Linked DNA regions of Homo sapiens: region 1 is linked to region 2. The links are contacts of gene promoters, found by promoter capture Hi-C in blood cells and fetal thymus (Javierre and others, 2016). All regions are on one chromosome and are shown on one strand. Each heading gives the region's core, a stretch centred on a gene start or on the middle of the fragment in contact. The rest is flanking DNA. Distances are from core to core; before and after follow the strand shown.

Region 1 (6,559 bases), core at 3,896-6,395, 1.9 Mb before region 2:
TACACATAGATTTTGGACCGTGATGGGAGTTGGCAATCCAACCCCCATGTTGTTCATGGGTCAATTGTACTATTTTTCATTGGCCAGATTGGCAAATATCACAAAGTTTGACAGTATATTTTTTGAAAAGGTTCTGGAGAAATAAGCAGACTCAATAGTACATGCTTCACTTTCTCTAGATAGACTCATGAGAAACAAGTCATTGTCTCTAAGGGGTGAAACTGGGTGGCTGGTATGTGAAAGAGACTTTGCAACTTAAAATTTTCCACCACATGTATGTATTACCTACTAAAATAGAATATTATGCATAAATATATATAGATATAGATGTAGATGAGATATGTATACAATACTGCTGGTTTGATTCTTGAACTTATTTTTCCATTGGTGTTTGCCAATATAGGCTTTAGCCCAAGAACAAACATTTATGGAATCAATTATACTTTAATTAAAAAGGACTGTTCTCTCTCTTTTCTCTTCTACCCTGCAAACCCTTCAAAACCTCAAGGCTAAGAGAACTAACACATAGTAGGAACTCAGTAAATATTGTCAAGTGAATGAATGCACCTGACTTGGCCTGAAGTGGAGGCCAGGAAAAACCACTTTCTTCCCACTTTTTTCATGATTAGGACCTGAACACCCATGCTTCCTGGTTTCAGAAAGAGAGAAATTGGGTAGAATCAAATGACAGGTCACCTGGGCCAGACGACGACAGGAGGAAATGGTTAGGTCTAGCTGTACAACTTTAGACATGTTACTTAAACTCTTTCTGAATCTCTGTTTCCTTGTCAGTAAAATGGAGATACTAATTACCTTCTAGGAGATCAGTAAATGTTCATTGAATTGAATAGAGTTCTTGTTAGCAAAGGGAAAAGAGTCTTCATCATAATTGAGATAAATAAAAGTGGGAGGTAGGAAAAGAGGTCAATGTGGTGGCCTTGCTGTGGCCCAAGGAGCTTTTAATACTGTTATGCAAAGTTAAATCAGGGCATGGGTAATGTAAGTAAGGCCCTATGAGTGTTCATGACTTGGTGAGCTTTTAAATACATTGTTTATTTGTATTGCAATATCTCTCCTTCCTTCCTTCCTTCCTTCTTTCCTTCCTTCCTTCCTTCCTCCCTCCCTCCCTCCCTCCTTCCTTCCTTTTTTTCTTTCTTTCTTTTCCTTCCTTCCCTCCCTCCCTCCCTCCTTTCTTTCTTTCTTTCTTTCTTTCTTTCTTTCTTTCTTTCTTTCTTTCTTTCTTTCTTTCTGTCCTTCCTTCCTTCTTTCTTTTCTTTCCTTCTTTTTTTCTTTCTTTCTTTCTTTCCTTCCTTCTTTTATTTTCTTTCTTTCTTTTTTTCTCTTTCCTTCCTTCCTTCCTTTCTTTCTTTCATTTCTTTCTCTCTTTCTTTTTCCTTTCTTTCTTTCTTTTCTTTTTTCTTTTCCCTTCTTTTCTTCTTTTCTTTTTTCTTTTCCCTTCTTTTCTTCTTTTCTTTTTGAGACATGGATGCCCTGTTGCCCAGGTTGGAGTGCAATGGTGCAATCACGGCTCATTGCAGCTTCCAGCTCCTGGACTCAAGTGATCCTCCCACCTCAGCCTCCCAAGTAGCTGGAACTCTAGATGTGCGCCACCACGCCCAGCTAATTATTTTTATTTTTAGTAGAGACAAGGTCTTGCTATTCTTCCCAGGCTGGTTTTGAACTCCTAGCCTCAAGTGATCCTCCTACCTTGGCCTCCCAAAGTGCTGGGATTACAGGCATGAGTCACCACTCCAGGCCTGTATTTCTAACAGTATGAGTGTGTGTGGATGCTTATGTGCATGCATGCATACACATGTACATTTAGTAAAATGCTTCTAAACTAGGACTCCAGTTCTATCCCAGATCTCCCAGGAAAACCTGGAAAACCTTAGCTAAATGTTTTTTCGGGAGTGCTTGGCTTTCTTATCTGTGGTTGGAGATGATTCCCTTCTAATCTCACTCACAGGGTTGTTTTCCGGTTTTGTTTTTTGTTTTTTAAAAATCAAATGAGGTGAATGAGAAACCAGTCTGCAAACTGGAAAGAGCTATGCACGTTAATAATTATGAGGGTTTTATGCCTTTTGCTGAATTCAGGCTCTGGCTCTTATTAAAAATGCCAACTCCCTTGGTCCTTCTGCTTGGCCATTCATACTCACTCTGCTTAATCATTTGCACCTCAAGGTAAATTAACAGATTAGGCCAAGGAGAGTGTGGAAGAGAGTAATTCATAGTATGAGAAATAATAATTACAACAATAATAATGGCGACATTTATTGGGTGCTAACTCTGTGCTGGACTCAGTAGAGACCTCTCCAGAGATGAGGGATGTATAAGAGAAGAAAAGATAAATTGTGGTTACTCTGGCACAAGCTTGCTAATAGAGTGCTGTGATCTTTTTGCTCATAAGGCTTATGTGCTTGTGTGTGCGTGTGCGCATGCGCGCGCGTGCACGCTCATGGGGGCGTGTGCTTGTTAGCATATTGGTTTTCCTCATCTCTTCCCCCTCGGGGGGAGAGGAGACATAGGAAATGGGGGAAGGCTTCCAAGCAGGCTCCACTAATCACATGTGGTACAATGCAGGGATTTCCAAACCGTGAGATGTCGGGGTCACAACCTTGACTTTGCCAGTGACCCTGCTGTGTGACTCTGGCCAAATCTCACCTCCTCTCTTAGTTTCATTGTCTGCTCTGCTGAAATGAAAGGGTTTCCTGAGTCACCCTGGTAATAGACACCTACGGTTTTGCCCCCACCCAGGCCTCCATTCAGTTTCTCTGGCTCTGAACTCTGGGTAGAATGGGCCAGAAGGAACCTATCCTTAGTTCCAGGCCGGCGGGGAACCTAGACTGCTGTGATTGGCTCCAGGATGGGCAAAGGACCCCTTCAGAGCCCTAGCGATAACCCATGGCTTTTGTTCTAGGGACAGAACAGATGCTGTTTCCCAGGGGACCAATCCCAGAAATATGTGGAGCTGGAGCTTCTGGCAGCCTTTTTGCTACCATGAGGTAAGTATCTGTGTGAGTAAGGAAGCAACACAGCCAAACGTGGAGCAGAGAGATAAAAACTGACTCCAGGGGCCATTGTTGGAGCACCTGGATCCAGGTGATCCTGAACAGACACCTCTGTACTTTTCTCTCCTATAACCTAATAAACTTGATTGCTATTGCTGTTCTTCATTTAAGCCTATTTGGCTTGGGATTCTGTCACTTGGAGCTGTGTGGTGACCTTATGCAGTGTTTATGGGGTTTACACAGTGGTTGTCATGGCCTTTTCAGTTCAGGAATCCCAAAGCTTTATGGCTTCTATGATTCTCCTGGGAGTGAGTGGGGCTGGCTGCAGGAAACTGGGTCACAAGGCCTCAGCCACAGTCGCCTTGACTCTGCCAGTGTGGTGGGGGCTTGGCCTGGTCCCCACAAGGAGAGAAAGTGTTGAGTCCCATGTCTCACCACTCTTCATGAGTATAATTATTTTGATGCCAAATTATTAATGGGCTTGGCTGTGACATGTTTTCCCAGACCCCCCTTGGAGATGTCACGTTATAAATGGTGATCTCATTGTATAATATTTTTAAATCTGAAAATTTAAATACTGAAATACCACTGACCCCAGTGGTTTCAAGGAATGGCGTGCAGACTTGTAGTGATCTCTACTCAAAACTTAGAAGCTTTCACATAAAATTCCACATTCCTGGTTTCCCTGAAGAGGGAGAAGGCCTGGCATTGCTACGTAGCGCCACTGGGATACACACCCAGGGTGATAAGTGCCTGACACTGAGCTGCCCCCACTCCCTTGGATGGGGCCCGCCTTCCGCATCCTGACCCGGGTCTCTACTGCTGTGCACACACAGCCCCCATATCAGTCAAGAATAAGGAAGACTTAGACAATGCTCCTTCAACACCAGTGCCCAGGGAGTTTCTAAAAGTGCAGTCACCCCGGGATACCTCTCTCCTGCACATTGCTTGAGATCCCTAGCTGTGAACACTAACAGGAGCTTTTATGCTTCTATGCTCTGTACCAAACGCATGTGCACCAGCTCATATCATTCTCATGACAGTCCTGGGTGAGGGTCATTCCACCCCTTTTCACATAAAAAATCCGAGGGTCAAACACACCGTGTATCTTTTTTTTTTCTTTTTTTGAAATAGGCTCTTGCTTTGTCACCTAGACTAGAGTGCAGTGGCACAATCACAGCTCACTGCAACCTCGACCTCTTGGGATCAAGCGATTCTCCCAGCTCAGCCTCCCAGGTAGCTGGGACTACAGCTATGTGCCACTATGCCTGCCTTCTTTTTGTTTGTGGAGACAGAGTCTCACTATGTTGCCCAGGCTGGTCTCAAACTCCATGCAATCTTCCCACCTTGGCCTCTCAAAGTGCTGGGACTATAGTCACGAGCCACCACGCCCGGTGCCCACACCATGCATCTTGAGCCACCACGCCTGGCACCCACAGCATGCATCTTACCCCAGGCCACATCCCTAGGGAGAGCTGGGACCAGAGAAGACCTCCTGCCCTGCGAGCTTCTTTTGACCTTTGTATCTGGGGCAATCAGCAGAGGTGACTGTACCATGGCACCCCACACCCAGTCCAGTTGTGAGAGGAAGGAGGTGGAGAGGAGTAGGTAGACATAGTAAAATAAATGTCATGGAAGCCAAATTTAGAGGATATGGAGAATGTCAAAGTGAGAAGCTGGCAGGTCATTTGGTCTAATGCTCTTGTTTTCTCCATGGGGGAAAGTGGGGAAGTTGACAGTTTCAAGGACACGTAGTGGCCCTGGAAAGAGAGAAGGGTCATTACAGTGGTTGTTATGGTCATTACAGTAGACCAGATTCTGAGACCTAACGTGAACCCTGGGCTTCCCCATTTAGCACTGCTTTCCCCTGAAAGCTTCATTCACTTGTCTACCCAGGGCAAGGGGAACTCCTGGCCATGTGCCTGGGGGCCTTTGCTCTCTCTTCCTGCTCCTCCAGAATAACTTCCCTTTGGGTAATTTTTCCATTACACTGTTCCCCTTTGGACTTTCAGAAATAAAAACCCAGCCCCCCTGGTGTGCAGTCACACTTGCGCCCTGAGGAGTAGTTAAAATTCAGCTTGAGGGGCACTTAGTGTCACAGAAGCCTAGATAAAGAAACAAGATTTCAGGCAGGAAGAAATAATAAAGAGGCAGGACTTCAAGTGTCCTGTGAAACACAACATTCGGCCTCCGGCACACACATCCGTGGGAGACGGCTCAACTTCTTTATAAAGTGGTGAGTTCTGTGTGAGCACAGATGCATTTTGTTTTCCTATGAGGAATCAATGATTAAATTATCAGAAAGCTAAAAACCAGGCTGCCTGAATATTCCCCGACGTGTCCCCTGTGTCTCCCCAGCACCTCCTGCTCAGGAGGTACAGGCTTTATCTCCAAAGCTTTAGTTTAAATGTCCAACACATCTTATTAATGAAAGTAATAAGCTGTTGTTTATTATATGTCATGATGGGGAATATGACTATTTAATATAAACCTGACATTTAAATTCCACTTAGTTATGAGACGTGGACGATATCAAGGCATAACTCTTTACCCTGGAGTAAAAACTCCCTGGGTCTGCATTTTAAAGCATTGAAATTTTCAAAGTAATCAGGTTCCTTTTTTTTTTTTTTTTCCAGAGGAACCAAATTGTGAAGACATCTGTTCTGTTATTAATTTCACATACATCTTAAGCTCCTCAAGGCCAGAAATGAGGCTTCATTCACGTCGAATTAATGAAACATGATTGTAAGTCCCTTGCTTGGAAATGCTGTCACACAGTTCTGAGCTGCTTATAAGCACTGAGTAATCTCTGAAACTGCCAGGGGACGGCCACTTGAAATCTGCCCTCCCCTCCCCCTGCCACCCAAAAACAATATCTGAATATATCACAACACTAACTATATCCTGAAAGATTAATAGCAGATAAAAATTTCTGGGAAATGAATCAGACTTTCTCAGTAAAGGATACAGAGATCTCAGGCAAAAGCAGATTGCATAGTGGAAGAGCTCTTTGGGATACAGTTTAATAACTGTGCCCCAGGCTGCCCCTGAATACACCCAAAAGGACGATGGTGGGCCAGGAAGGGGGTGGGGAGTCTTGGAATTTCTTGCAGAGATGTCTTTTGAGGGTGTGTACGAAAATGTACTGGAGGTGACACAGATGTGAAACTGGAAACTTGATCTGCGAAAGCATGATGTATGTGTCAGGTGTGTGGGAGAATGTGTGTGCATATGGAAACTGTGTGTGAATGCATGCAGGAATGTGTATGAGTCTACTTACATGTGGGTGAGTATGTGTATATCAGTGTGTGAGTTCGCGCACGTATGAGTGTGAAAATGTGTGTGTTGTGAGTTTGTGTTGGTGACTGTGTATGAGGGTATGTGTGTATGAATATGGGTGAGTTTGCATGTGTGAAAATGTCTGTGTTGCAAGTTTTTATTGGTGAGTGTGTATGAGGGTATGTGTGTATGAATATGGATGAGTTTGCATGTGTGAAAATGTGTGTTGTGAGTTTGTGTTGGTGAGTGTATATGAAGGTATGTGTGTATGA
Region 2 (6,917 bases), core at 1,346-3,845:
TGCAATAAATATATGTCAAATGAAAGACAGAGGCAACTAAGTATAAGAAGCATGGCACCAGCATCTTCTGGTGAGGACCTCAGGAAGCTTCCATTCATGGCAGAGGGAGAGGCCAGCAGGAATCATTTGGCAAGAGAGAGAGCAGTGGTCAGGGGAGGAGAAGGTGACAGGCTCTTTTTGACAATCAATTCTCTCGGGAACTAATAGAACTCACTCACTACTGCCAAGAACTCACTACTGCCAGGACAGCACCAAGCCTTTCATGAGGGATCAGCCTCCATGACCCAAATACTCCCACCAGGCCCCACTTTCAACATTGGGGGTCACATTTCAATATGAGGTTTGGAAGGGTCAAACCATATCCAAACTATATCATCCCGTCTTAAACATCTCTGGAACTCATTCAATTCTCCATCTCTACCTTCAAATTCATGCGATTCTCTGTTGCCTGAACTACTGCCATGGTTCCTCAACTGCCCCGTGAGCCTTGTGCCCCTACAATCTGTTTTCCGCACAAAGTGATGTTTTCAAAATACAAATCTGATCATGGCTCTCCTCTGCCTAAAGTCCAGGCAGAGATCTAGGGAAAATCTCAGCCCAAGTCGATCATGGCGGACTCCTTCCACTTGCCGTTGACTGGGTTTCGTTGTGGCCAGAGACTTACTTCTGGCCATTGAAACCTGCAGGCATTTCTTCTGCGGAGCTTCTGGGAAAGGTAGTCATGTATTTCAAAAGGGACCACTGGAAGAAAGGGATACTTTTAATTTTGTGAGATCCTGGGTGTGCCGCGGCCATCTTGCTACCAGCCTGAAAGTGCAATTCCAGGGACTGCAAGGAAAGCAGAGCCTGAAGACCAGGGCACCACCTCTGGAGACAATCCTCCCATGGGAGAGAAATCCCCTTGCTAAGTAAGCCGGTTTGAGTTGGCTTTCCTGCCATGTGCAGTCTGATGCTGGTGTGCGTCTGAGTCATCCGGTGCCAAGTACGCAGTTGATGACATGCATTGGAAGCTCAGTGGATAGATGTGAGCTGGAGAAATACCTATGTGGGTCCTCGGTGAAAACTGAAGGTTGGGGAAAGGAGGAAAGCAGAAAAAAAGCTTTGCAGAGGATAATGAGCTTCAAAGAAGATTGGGAGGAAATGGGCCACAGAGGTGCCAAAGGAGACCACCTGTGGCCTGAAAAAAGGATTTCCTGCTTGCCTGCCTTTCTGTATTAAGACTCGTATTAAAAGGCATGATAACATTCCTAAATGTGTCCTAAGGGGACAAAAGGAAGTGGCTCAGAAGTGTTTTCAGCTAGGGGAGGAAGCTGGGTTTCAGAACCAACCCTTGGGATTAACATCAGGAGAATTTGGCTTCCTGCCCTTTAATAAGTCACTTACCAGAATCTCAGAGGCAACCAAAAATGGACCAAACAACCCGGCCAGAGAATGCGGCTTCTGAGTGTAAGACACTGAGGCGGTGTCACAGACAGGTCAGTGCCTCTGGTGTCTAGAAAAGGGGCAGGGGCTTGCGGGGAGAGGGCTGTCGCGCAAGTGTGGAAGTGGAGTGCCGAGATTGGACGGACTAACCACGGGGAGGCACCGTTGGTAAGAACAGGCCTGGAAAGCAGCTGGCAGCAGTCACAGAATTAGGCCAGAGAGAGACCTCCATGGGAAAGCAGACGGGAGGTCCAAATGAGAGCGTGTGAATTAAAAAAAAAAAAAAAAAAAAAGACCAGGAACTATGTTGCTATGGGAGAGGTTCTCCAACTTCAGTGTGCGCCAGAATCAGCAGCGAACTGTGACAGATGTGGATTCCTGGTCCTCAGCCTCCCCCCTCCCCCCAGCCCCCGGCCCCCACTCGGATGCTGCAGGTCGGGGCCGACACACACAGATTTACAAAGCTCCTCTGGCTGCTCTAGTGCCCAGGGCCCACTTGGAGCTGAGCTCCCTTCAGCTCCAGCCTTCAGCTCCTGCACTGATGGAGAGAACGGGCGTTTCTTGATGCCACGCCAAGTGTCCTTCTGACCCCTGGTACCCTGTGGGCCCGACGTGGCGGCCTCGGGCCTCGCAGCGCCGCCCAACGCAGTAGGACCTAGCGATGGGAGCCACTGGGCAGTCGCGCGGCCCGGCCCTCCCCAAAAGCTTGGCTTGCAGACGTTAGCGTATGCCCCAGCCCCTGCGCATGGCGGTTGCGCTGTGGGCTGTGCGAATAAACCTCCGGGAAGGTCTCCGTGGTGACTGGCAGACGCCCTGGCCAATTGTGACCCGGCGCTTGTTTGTCTCTGCCCCATCCCTCCCCGGGGGGCCGATACTTCCATGACTGACAGGCCGTCCCAGGCGCTGTTACGTAAGGGGAGGGTCAAGTGCAGTCCCACCCAAACCGGGGTGATTTGATTTGCAGGACCGAGTGTGTTCTTCCCAACGCCCCCGGAAGAACGTCTTTGACGGGCAGGTGTGAGAGCCAGTTGGCGCCGGGAGGCCAGGCGGAAGCCTCGGGCCCCAGGATCGTGCAGCAGGGGGCGGAGCCCGCTGCCGAGGGCAGGGCAGGGCAGGGCAGGGCGGGGTGGGGCGGGGCGGGGATCAAGCAGGGGCAGGGCTGGCGCTGCGGCGGGAGATGCTGTCGGGCCGCGGCGGCGCTTGGCAGCCAGGAGCTCTGCATTGAAGGCACTGGGGTGAGGCTTACTGCCCGGCAGGCTGGTGGGTACGCGAGGGCTGAGGTGTCTGTAAATCTGGCCGCCAGCCTCCACGGGCCCGGCATTTGTCCATCTTTCTAGGCGCTCGCGACTCGGCGACGGCGGCCGCAGTGGGACACGGAGGCGGGGCCGGGCACCTGTGCGCGTTTGCAGGCACCTGCTGCGCTGGCCGCCTCGCAGCCCGGGACTGCTGCTGGGGACTGCGGCTGGAGCTGGGCTGGCCCGGCCCGAGGGAGAGGGGGGCCCAGCTGGCTCGCCCCGGCCCGTGCCCGCCCTCCCCGGCCGGGTCCCGACCCCGAGCTCTGGTTAAGGGGGCGTCGCCGGGCCCCAGAGCCCCCCCACTGGAGGGGCCCGCGGCTCCCGGGCCAGCATCGAGCTAGCTGCGAGGCCAGGACAGGGCCCCCGCCTTGCATCACCTCGAGACAGGTTTGTCCAGATTCCCTGAGTGCTCAGAGACGGGTTTCCGCCCGCGGTGAGGGTGCCGGTCCGAGGCCGCCGCGGGTCCCGGCTGTCCCCAGCGAGCCTGGCCCGGGCCGTTTTCATCTTTTTTTTTCTGGCCCCTGCTCTGTCTCCTCTTAACGTGTAATTTCTTAAGTCCGATTCGGGGTGATGTGAGTGCGCTGTGGCATGTAGAGTAACAGCAGCACTCATGTTTTAGCCTAGTTTTAGCTCTGCCACGCACTGTCATTCGCGCAGGCTGAAGACCCAGACTTCTCAGCTGGGTGATGTAAAGGAATGCAGCCGTGGCCAAACAGGCAGAAATTCTAAAATTGTTTCCAAGTGACAAGGATGTAACATGTCTTGCTTCCATCTATGTCATTCCTCTCAGAACATGTATGCTGTGCTTGTCCTAGACTAGACCCTGAAAAGTGTGCTACAGTTTCTCGTGATTATGTTGCTGCTGGAAACATTGGATTAAAAGATCCATAGCAAAGTTAGGCAGCAGAAGACAATACCTCCTGCTTAATGACAGGCAGAACTGGGGACAAAATTTACTGGATTCTTAAAGAGAATCCTAACGCGTTAGACCTTTAAGAGACTTTACAGGTTTGCACCAGCCCATTAAATGTATGTTGTGGAGCACACCACTGTGTCCCAAGGGATCCGGTCCCGTGTTAGGTGTGTCCTAGAGGACACTGGGGTGCTGCACATTACTGCTAGATCTGAAAATCAGTGTCTTCATTTGAGCCAAAGGGGAACATGCCCCCGCACATTTTTGATATCTCAAGTATATTCAGTGTGTCATACTCACCTTTAAAGGCAGATTTGCGGAGAACTGTTGTTACTTATTGCATGTTATCCATGCTAGTAGAAGAGCCAGGATCTTCATTCCTCTGATTTAATTACTGGGTGGCATTTTCTCTTGGAAAACAAAACAGCAGTAATGGGCACTGGCAAGGTATGGATGACCTGGGTTGGGTACGTCCCTGGATGTCACAAGCTCGTCAGAGAAGACAAATTATTGCTGATTGGGGACATTTAGTACATGGTTTGCTCATGATCTGTTTAAGAAATTAGGAAAACGTTGCTTAGTTTTGACCCTTTTCACCTTCAGCCGTTTGATTGGTGCAAGTAGGAATTCAGAGAAGGAGCTCTGCTTTAAAGGTAACAGAGCCTGGGGGGAAATACCAGGGCAGGGAAGTTGCTGTTCTTACAGCTGGGCTTGGCTGCTTTTCCTTTGCTTCTTTGTATTTTTAGTAAATGACCCACTGACTTTATGACCTTTGAGACATGCTTTCTTATCCACGACTTGAAGCTTCGGCTGGAAGATCTGTACTTGTGAAATGTCTCTCTTGCGTGCCTGTGTTGCATTTGTCTGGATTGCTTGGCAGTTCCTTAAGTACATGATCCTGCAGTTTCTATATGTTTCGAAGTTGTAGAAGGCAGTTTATTGGGGGATGGTACTGACAGGACTCAGGTAACTACTTTTGTCGTCTTAGTGACATACTTGTGCTGTGCCTTCCTGTTTTCTCTTATTTCTTTGGCTAATACTTTGCTGGAGGAATCATTTTGTACTCAGGTGAGTTGAGGCAGCGCTTAAATCAGCCTCCTTGTATCTATTGTTTGTTCCCATAACCCTGGGAACAGTGATACAACTTATGTGTATGTGGGTACAGTGCATTCTGAGTCTGGCTTTCCTGTTAGTTAAATGCCGAGATGTGCTAGTAACAACTGTTGTCCGTATCTTCTGAATTTCTGGCACCAAAGCTCATCTGTGTCACTGAGTAATCTGAATCCTGGCCAAGGGACCTGGTGCACAGATTCTTATAGACATCTAAGTGTGAAAGAAATTAGAACCAGAAAAGGAGGTGGGTATAGAAGGAAACTATTTCTGAAGATGCCTGAAGACCTTTTCCTAGGTTTTTATAACCCCTTGTTATATAACATTATATTGTATATCCAGGGTGTCATAATTAGTTATTCATCATTTCAGAAGTCTTAACTGTTGGCCGGGCGTGGTGGCTCATGCCCGTAATCCCAGCACTTTGGGAGGCTGAGGCAGGTGGATCACTTGAGGTCAGGAGTTCGAGACCAGCCTGGCCAACATGGTGAAACCCTGTCTCTACTAAAGATACAAAACTTAGCTGGGCATGGTGGCAGGCACCTGTAATCCCAGCTACTCAGGAGGCTGAGGCAGGAGAATCGCTTGAACCCAGGAGGTGGAGGTTGCAGTGAGCCGAGATCACACCACTGCACTCCAGCCTGGGCAACAGAGTGAGACTCCATCTTAAAAAAAAAAAAAAGTCTTAATGGTTGGTGTTGGCATGTTTCTATGTCTTCCCGTCTTGTTTTAAGGTAAAGTGAATGCCGAAGACAGAAGATTTGGATGATACACCACTGACTTTCTTTGTTTGGAATACACGTTATGAACCCTTTCTGGAGCATGTCTACAAGCTCTGTACGCAAAGTAGGTATAGTTGATAAATTCAGTAAGAAAACCCATTTGCTTCTGTGTCTGAAAATAGGGTCAGAATGAAGGCTAAAATAATCTGTCACGGTCACCTGTAATCTTGACAAAATTACCTGGTTTTTCTAGTTAAGGGTTTACTCTTGAGAAATAATTATTTTGTTGGTTGAAGTCTGTTTCTGAGACTAGGATTGCATCTCAAATAGAAATCGTTCTGGTCATCACAATTCTAAGATGATTTAGGTTATATTTACACATGATGAAATTTGTAACATTGTAGTTTTCTACTAAACTTCAAGGTTCTACGGTTAGAACAGCTGTGGGAAAGGCTAGTCTAATATCATTAAATCAGACTTGAGGGGCACTAATTTAATTTTTCTAAATAAAATGATTTTTTAAAAATATATTTTCATTTTAGGAAAGGTTAAAATAGGCAAACAATAAGAAAATAAAAACCAGCTGGGCACGGTGGCTCATGCTTGTAATCCCCAGCACTTTGAGAGGCCGAGGCGGGCAGATCACGAGGTCAGGAGATCGAGACCATCCTGACTAACATGGTGAAACCCCGTCTCTACTAAATATACAAAAAAATTAGCTGGGCATGGTGGCGGGCGCCTGTTGTCCCAGCTTCTCAGGAAGCTGAGGCAGGAGAATGGCGTCAACCCAGGAGGCAAAGCTTGCTTGCAGTGAGCTGAGATCGCGCCACTGCACTCCAGCCTGGGCAACAGAGCAAGACTCCATCTCAAAAAGAAAAAAAAAAAAAAAAAACTATAATCTCACCTCTAGGAGAACAAACACCACTATTACTTTTTTTCTATATACATGACATCTCTTCCTTACTTGTACATAGTAATGGGGTACAAGTTTAGTTTTGCTACATTGGCATATTGCATTGTGCTGAATTCAGGGCCTTTAGATGCCCCCATCACTGGAGCAATGCATATGATATACATGTTTTTATATAGCTAATTAAACAGCGTTTGGTTGTACTTGCGCCAAGGAAGTACCTATGAGATGGTAGTTTAGTCTCTGACTCATGTCGACCTTTGTCTTTGACGAAGGATGACAGTTTATGCTGGTGATATTTGAAATGTTGAAACATACCCAGTAGGGACAAATCAAAATCAGACCCAGGCAAGTGAGAGAATAGCTTCATTCTTTGTTTCTAACCTAAGTGCTAACAGGCAGTGACTGATTTCAGTCATCCACATTATTTTGAGCTTCTTAGCACCTAACCTTCTGTAGCATGTAAGTGCTGGGGGACTTTTCTAGCCTTGTACAGTTGTCTAATTGCTTAGTAACCCCTTGCCCTCTTTTTGGGGCCACTAGGA

Evidence for each region. Contacts are between HindIII fragments. The CHiCAGO score rates a contact against its expected background, and 5 or more counts as called.
Region 1: a contact is called between a fragment that was not itself captured here and the fragment with the promoter of AKTIP in region 2, in 4 of 17 cell types (M0 macrophages, M1 macrophages, M2 macrophages and 1 more). The highest score is 13.6, in M0 macrophages.

The regions. Positions count from the first base shown.
Region 1 is chr16:55,443,307-55,449,865 of GRCh38, reverse strand. MMP2-AS1 (MMP2 antisense RNA 1) reads left to right here. Exons shown (of 7, transcript NR_147198.1): 3 at 2,918-3,002; 4 at 5,645-5,753. Among named protein-coding and RNA genes, the nearest start is that of MMP2-AS1, 16 kb to the left of the region's middle. The HindIII fragment of the contact is 522 bases long and covers 4,885-5,406 here.
Region 2 is chr16:53,498,887-53,505,803 of GRCh38, reverse strand. It overlaps AKTIP (AKT interacting protein), which reads left to right and starts at 2,595. Exons shown (of 10, transcript NM_022476.4): 1 at 2,595-2,657; 2 at 5,475-5,586. The coding sequence starts at 5,545. LOC124903690 (a long non-coding RNA gene) reads right to left here and starts at 1,424. Exons shown (of 2, transcript XR_007065069.1): 1 at 1,384-1,424; 2 at 1-1,063. RefSeq lists silencers at 1,428-1,517, 2,238-2,477, 2,498-2,567, 2,828-3,127 and enhancers at 1,838-1,937, 2,398-2,897, 2,898-3,399. The HindIII fragment of the contact is 2,307 bases long and covers 2,130-4,436 here.